2 separate regions of the Homo sapiens genome follow, and region 2 is linked to region 1. The links are contacts of gene promoters, found by promoter capture Hi-C in human tissues and cell types (Jung and others, 2019). All regions are on one chromosome and are shown on one strand. Each heading gives the region's core, a stretch centred on a gene start or on the middle of the fragment in contact. The rest is flanking DNA. Distances are from core to core; before and after follow the strand shown. Region 1 holds the start of FCHO2 (FCH and mu domain containing endocytic adaptor 2). Region 2 has its middle 72 kb from the start of CARTPT.

What was found. Contacts are between HindIII fragments. The study calls those that stand out against the background at their distance.
Region 2: a contact is called between a fragment that was not itself captured here and the fragment with the promoter of FCHO2 in region 1, in 1 of the 25 tissues and cell types used here (dorsolateral prefrontal cortex).

The regions. Positions count from the first base shown.
Region 1 is chr5:72,953,899-72,957,636 of GRCh38, forward strand. It overlaps FCHO2 (FCH and mu domain containing endocytic adaptor 2), which reads left to right and starts at 2,143. Exons shown (of 26, transcript NM_138782.3): 1 at 2,143-2,231. The coding sequence starts at 2,199. FCHO2-DT (FCHO2 divergent transcript) reads right to left here and starts at 1,986. Exons shown (of 2, transcript NR_186392.1): 1 at 1,116-1,986. RefSeq lists a silencer at 2,036-2,735. The HindIII fragment of the contact is 22,512 bases long and covers 1-3,738 here.
Region 2 is chr5:71,789,207-71,792,944 of GRCh38, forward strand. No RefSeq gene overlaps it. Among named protein-coding and RNA genes, the nearest start is that of CARTPT, 72 kb to the left of the region's middle. The HindIII fragment of the contact is 5,518 bases long and covers 1-3,738 here.

The DNA of each region.
Region 1 (3,738 bases), core at 893-3,392:
TTAATCACTGTTTACTATAAAGTTCCACAACTTAAACATCAGGCAATTACAGGATATGGTGTTTCGGCCCTAATGAACCTTGCAAATACCTGAAATACTCAGAATACTTATTTTCATTCCAGATCTACTCCTAAATTTAAGGGGAGCAGAAGAATGCGAATGAAGGCCAGTAACTATTGTGAATACTATACTAAATTGTCTGTAGGTAATAGCCACACATTGGAACACTAACAAAAGGAAAATGTATGCTTGATACTACTGAGAAACAATACTTTGTCATGCAGGAATCTATAGCATTCAAGCTGAGATGAAGGATTTGACAAGTTAATTTGTCTTCTCTCTTACCTAAGCATTTCTGCTGCTCAAATTCTGACTCCAAAGCAGTCTCTGAAATGGGCAGCCATGCTATGTACAAATTTTCACTGCTTTTGGAGTTCACCGTTTGTTTTGAGGACAGAAGACAAAAGATAGGAAGAAGAGTTTTCCTGGGGCCTGAATAGTGTTCTTCACTGGGAGAGGGAATTTATGGTTATGAGCCAGTGTTCAGTATCAGATCACAAGCGGCAGGGGCACCTATTTTTTTTTAAATTAATGTGTGTGTGTGATATGTAAGTTCCTTTAAAGCATGGAGTCCAGGATAGAAGTCTCTCTTGCCCAGGTCTAAGGGTGCGGGGGGAAGGGGGGGGGCGCGGCGGTGGGAGGGAGTACTTTAGTGATACTAGGAATTTAATGCCAAATGTATTTGCTGTGTGACCTAGATGGCTGAATTTTTTAAAAAGTTCTTCAGCATCGAGAAAAATCCAGTTAGACCGATAGCTTAGAGAGCTGTAGCTTATTTCTAAATTTGACTTTCCCTAAAACTAAGTGTAAATGTCAGTGATATGAGGACTTTTTAAAGAAACAAAATAAAGAAACAAGATACACAAAAATAGAGCAACTATGGCCAATCTTGTTTCATCCCTTTTCATCTATGACCTTACTCATACCCCTATCCATAATAAATGACTTTCAGCAAATCCTAGATGTTCTGCATCCTATATCTTTCTAACAGATATTCTTAAAAAGTATGACCACAATACCATTATCCAATTATTCCTTGTTCAACAAGCACTTACAATTTCATCCATGTGAAAGGCACCTCATGATTTTTACTTGAGGATGAAGATAATTTCTCATGAATTCTCATTGTTTTAAGTCACCTGAAGAGGTGTGATATGCTACAATAAATCTATTTGTAGGGCTTGGCTTCAAGAACTGAAGATTCTGGACCTAGCTGATCTGGTGACAGTGAACTTGAGACCTCTAATAGCGTTTAACTATTTTTTTTTAACTTTTGGAAAGCAAGGTGTAGGAAGGGGATTTAGTTTTTCCATTAGGTCGTGGCATGTTAAGACTTGTTTCTTTTTCCAAAATGTTCAAGTTGCTGAAGAGAACTATGGACTATGGGTCAGGAAGTCCGTCGGTTTCGGGTCACATTCCGCTCCCGCAGGCCTGCGGGCCGCCCCAGCTGGTTTGTTCCCGGCGTGTTAGAGGTCAGAGGCCGAGGCCGCACTCAGTGCCTGGGTCTCGCGCAGCTCCAGGGCTCTCAGGCGACACTGGGCGTTTCCTTTCCGGCTTCGGAAAGTTTTGTTTTGGTTCAAGGAAAGGCGCCCTGTTGACCAAAGGCTTCTCAGTCTCCTCCGGGTGGCCAGCGGCCAAGTTTCCTCCAGCCCAGCGAGTCCAGACTATAGTCCGTTCGAGATCCTCGAAGGCCGGGGAAGCGAGTCTTGTGAGGAGAGAAAGCGAGTGGGCAGCCAGCCTGCCGACTCCACTGCCGCTGGCTGGCCCTTCTCTTCCCTCTGTCCCTGGGCCAGTGCCCGTCGCACCACAAACAGTGCGAGCAGTCTCCCCGGTGACTCCTCAAGGACCCAGTTCTCCACCATTCCTAAGAGAACACTCAACCCAGCCGCGCCCGGGATGCAGAGAGATCTACCAACACCCGAGAATGGGGACAGGGCGCATGCGCACACCGTGGCCGTGGCGTCTAAGTGCTCGCCCAGCTGCGGCAGCCGCTAGGTGGCGCATGCGCCCTGGAAGGTGCGGGCCGGTCTCTGGGAAGAAGGCGGCGGCGGCGAAAGGCGGGGGTGCTGTGGGGGCCGGGCCGTGTTTACACAGCGGCGGGCGGGCGCGGACGCGGAACCCGGCGCGGCGGCGGCACGATGGTCATGGCGTATTTCGTCGAGAATTTTTGGGTAAGCTTAGGATGTTGGAAGTCGTGTGTTTCGAAGTCCAAGGCTTTTGGCGCCTGAGCTTGGCCTGCGTGCGCTTCGGGCGGCGGCGGCGGCCCCTCCGGCAGGGCGAGCGTCCTCCTGCCGCGTCCCGCCTGGGTGAGGTCCGGCGGGCGACCGGTCGCCAGCCTATAGGGACTCCCGGGCTCGCAGCCCTATGGGGACGGGGGCTGTCACCGCGGCCCGGGGGCCCGCAGCGGGGCCGCCGGCCACCGGGGCTGGGACAAAGCGCCGGATGGGGCGGGAGACGGGACCCAGCCCCACCGGAGGCTCCCGGTGCCGCGCTCCGCGCGGGGCGTGCGCGGCAGCTCGGACGCGAAGGACGGGCCCGCGGCACAGCCGCCTCCCGCTGCGCGCTGGCTGGGAGCGCCGGGCGGTGGGGTTTTGCCTCCTGCCCTCACCGCGGGCCCCCCATCTGAGCGATCCCTTTTACCTCTGACGGTTTCCACACCAAATCCAGTGCGGGGTTGGGCTGGACTAGCACTTCCTCTCAGCCTCGCAGCTCGGCTCGTGGGTTTGCGCCCAGGACTTTGCCTCTGGGCCTGTTCACAAAGCGTTTAAAAGTTGGATTTAATGTAACTGGACTCCTTGGGCTTAAATGCATGGAGACCTCCCCCTACTCTGTGCTCCTTCCCCTTCCTCATTCTTTCCACCCCTTGTCTTAGCTCAGTATTAGATTCTTCTTTGAGAATTTCTCCGGCTCCCGGTGGAGTATTTTTCTGCAGTTATTGTTTTTTTTTTTGTAATGGGAAGTACAGTTCAGCCATGTACAGGAAAGGAACGTGTTTACTCAGGTATCTTTCGTGAATCCCATTTTATGCCCTGACAGTTGCAAGTACTGCAGGTCCATTTTCGTTGAGATTTAGACATATTTAAAGGGGTAATCTTTTAGCTAGTAAGGAATGTATGTTAAATTCTTAATTCTAAGTGCCTCAAGCATGGTCTTGGTTAGTAATCAGATCAGTTCATAGTTATTTATTTGTCTTGAATGTACCTTGTTTTCCACAAAGAACGTATATACTAGACCTTAGGTGTTTTGTTTTTTAAACAGCTTTATTGAGTTCACATTTCCGTACCAATACACTCATTTAAAGTGTAGTACAATTCAGAGGTTTTTTCATATGTTCATAGAGTTGTGTAAACATCACCATATCAGTTTTACAACAATTTCGTTATCCCAGAAAGAATCCCTAGACCCATTAGCAGTCACTCCCCATTTTCCCCCTGCCCCAGGCCTAGGCAACTAATGTATTTTCTGCCTCTCTGCATTTGTCTAGTCTGGACATATCCTATAAATGGGGCCATGGTGACCAGTTTCTTTCACTTAGCATAATGTTCTCAAAGTTTATCCATGATGTAGCATGTATCACTACTAATTCCTTTTTATGGTCAAATAATATTCCATTCCACATTTTATTAATATTTATCCAATCAGTGATGGACATCTGGTTGTTCCCACTTTTGGGTTATG
Region 2 (3,738 bases), core at 847-3,346, 1.2 Mb before region 1:
GCAATGGTGAGGTCAGAGGCAATGAAGACCAGGGCATAAGTGAAATGGGGGCCCTTGGAGGGTTTCATCAGAGGTGTGAGATAACCTGACTTTGTATTTTAAAAGGTTTATTCTAGAAGCCATGGTGGAGGAGCAGGGGACAAGCAGGGAGGCCAGTCAGGAGGTTCATACTGTCATCCAAGGAAGAGAAAATGGTGGCTGGGACCAGGGTGGTAGCAGTGGAGATGGTAAAAGGGGCCAGGATTCTGGATAATCTTGAAGTTACAGCCAATATAATTTCTGAGGGACTAGGTGTGGCAGATATCAGAAGAGGAAGAGTGAAAAGATGATACCAGCTGGGCGCAGTGGCTCTTGCCTGTTATCCCAACACTTTGGGAGGCTGAGGTGGGTGGATCACTTGAGGCCAGGGGTTTGAGACCAGCCTGGCCAACATGGCAAAACCCTGTCTCTACTAAAAATACAAAAATTAGCCAGGTGTGGTGGTGCACACCTGTAATCCCAGCTACATGGGAGGCTGAGGCATGAGAATTACTTGAACTTAGGAGGTGGAGGTTGCAGTGAGCTGAGATCACCCCACTGGTCAAAAAAAAAAAAAAAAAGATTACTCCGGATTCCTGGGCAAGATGGCTGAATAGGAGCAGCTCTGGTCTACAGCTCCCAGTGAGGCCAACTGCATTTCCAACTGAGGTACAAAGTTCATCTCATTGGGACTGATTAGACAGTGGGTGCACCCCAAGGATGGCAAGCCAAAGCAGGGTGGGGCATTGCCTCATCCAGGAAGTGTAAGGGGTCAGGGAACTCCCTCCCCTAGCCAAGGGAAGCCGTGTGGGACTGTTCCTTGAGAGACAGTGCTATCTGGCCCAGATAGCACTTTTTCCCACTGTCTTTGCAACCCGCAGACCAGGAGATTCCCTCGGGTGCCTATACCACCAGGACCCCGGGTTTCAAGCACAGAACAGGGCGGCCGTTTGGGCAGACACTGAGCTAGCTGCAGGAATTTCTTTTTTATACCCCAGTGGCACCTGGAACGCCAGCGAGACAGAACCTTTCACTCCTCTGGAAAGGGGGCTGAAGCCAGGGAGCTGAGTGGTCTTGCTTAGTGGATCTCACCCCCATGGAGCCCAAAAAGCTAAGATCCACTGGCTTGAAATTCTCGCTGCCAGCACAGTAGTCTGAAGTTGACCTGGGATGCTTGAGCTTGGTGGAAGGAGGGGCGTCTGCCATTAATGAGGCTTGAGTAGGTGGTTTTCACCTCACAGTGTAAACAAAGCCACCCTGAAATTCGAACTGGGTGGACCCCCTGCAGTGCCACACAGCCGCTGTAGCCAGACTGCTTCTCTAGATTCCTTCTCTCTGTGCAGGGCATCTCTGAAAGAAAGGCAGCAGCCCCAGTCAGGGGCTTATAGATAAAACTCCCAGGGCAGCTGTGGGATCTGCTTCAGCAGACTTAATCCTGCCTGCTGGGTCTGAAGAGAGCAGCGGATCCCCCTGCACAGCGTTCGAGCTCTGCTAAAAGACAGACTGCCTCCTCAAGTGGGTCCCTGACCCCCGTGCTTCCTGAGAGGGAGAAACCTCCCAGCAAAGGTCGACAGACACCTCATACAGGAGAGCTCCAGCTGGCATCTGGCAGATGCCCCTCTGGAATGAAGCTTCCAGAGCAAGGAGGAGGCAGCAATCTTTGCTGTTCTGCAGCCTCCGCTGGTGATACCCAGCCAAACAGAGTCTGGGGTAGACCTCCAGCAAACTCCAGCAGACCTGTAGAAGAAGAGGGTGACTGTTAGAAGGAAAACTAACAAACAAAAAGCAATAGCACCAACATCAACAAAAAGGGCAACCATGCAAAAACCCCACCTGAAGGTCACCAAAATCAAAGACCAAAGATAGATAAATCCATGCAGATGAGGAAAAACCAGTGCAAAAAGGCTGAAAATTCCAAAAACCAGAATGCCTCTTCTCCTCCAAAGGATCACAACTCCTTGCCAGCAAGGGAACAAAAGTGGATGGAGAATGAGTTTGACAAATTGACAGAAGTAGGCTTCAGAAGGTGGATAATAACAAACTCCTCTGAGCTAAAAATTCATGTTCTAATCCAATGCAAGGAAGCTAAGAACCTTGATAAAAGGTTACAGGAACTGCTAACTAGAATAACCAGTTTGAGAAGAACATAAATGACCTGATAAAGCTGAAAAACACAGCATGAGAACTTTGTGAAGCATACACAAGTATCAATAGCCGAATCAATCAAGTAGAAGAAAGGATATCAGAGATTGAAGATCAACTTAATAAAATAAAGCATGAACACAAGATTAGAGAAAAAAAATAAAAGGAACAAACAAAGCCTCCAAGAAATATGGGACTATGTGAACAGACCAAACTTATGTTTAATTGGTATAACTGAAAGTGACAAGGAGAATGGAACCAAGCTGAAAAACACACTTCAGGATATTATCCAGGAGAACTTCCCCAACCTAGCAAGACAGGCCAACATTCAAATTCAGGAAATACAGAGAACATCACAAAGATACTCCTTGAGAAGAGTAACCCCAAGACACATAATCGTCAGATTCACCAAAGTTGAAATGAAGGAAAAAATGTTAAGGGCAACCAGAGAAAAAGGTCAGGTTACCCACAAAGGGAAGCCCATCAGACTAACAGCAGATCTCTCTGCAGAAACCCTACAAGCCAGAAGAGAGTGGGGGCCAATATTCAACATTCTTAAAGAAAAGAATTTTCAACCCAGAATTTCTTATCCAGCCAAGCTAAGCTTCTTAAGTGAAGGAGAAAGAAAATCCTTTACAGACAAACAAATGCTCAGGGATTTTGTCACCACCAGGCCTGCCTTACAAGAGCTCCTAAAGGAAGCACTAAATATGGAAAGGAAAAACTGGTACCAGTAACTGCAAAAATATACCAAATTGTAAAGATCATTGACACTATGAAGAAACCGCATAAACTAATGGGCAAAATAACCAGCTAGCATCATAATGACAGGATCAAATTCACACATAACAATATTAACATTAAATGTAAATGGGCTAAATGCCCCAATTAAAAGATAAAGACTGGCAAATTGGATAGAGTCAAGACCCATCAATGTGCTGTATTCAGGAGACCCATCTCACATGCAAACACACACGTAGGCTCAAAATAAAGGGATGGAGGAAGATTTACCAAGCATATGGAAAGCAAAAAAAAAAAAAAAAAAAAAAAAAAAAAGAAAACAAACAAACAAAAAAACCAGGGGTTGCAATCCTAGTCTCTGATAAAACAGACTTTAAACCAACAAAGACCAAAAAAGACAAAGGACATTGCATAATAGTAAAGTGATCAATGCAACAAGAAGAGCTAAGTATCCTAAAAATATATGCACCCAATACAGGAGCATCCAGATTCATAAAGCAAGTTTTTTTTTTAATTTTATTATTATTATACTTTAAGTTTTAGGGTACATGTGCACAACGTGCAGGTTTGTTACATATGTATACATGTGCCATGTTGGTGTGCTGCACCCATTAACTCATCATTTAGCATTAGGTATATCTCCTAATGCTATCCCTCCCCCCTACCACCACCCCACAACAGTCCCCAGTGTGTGATGTTCCCCTCCCTGTGTCCAAGTGTTCTCATTGTTCAATTCCCACCTGTGAGTGAGAACATGTGGTGTTTGATTTTTTGTCCTTGCAATAGTTTGCTGAGAATGGTGGTTTCCAGTTTCATCCATGTCCCTACAAAGGACAT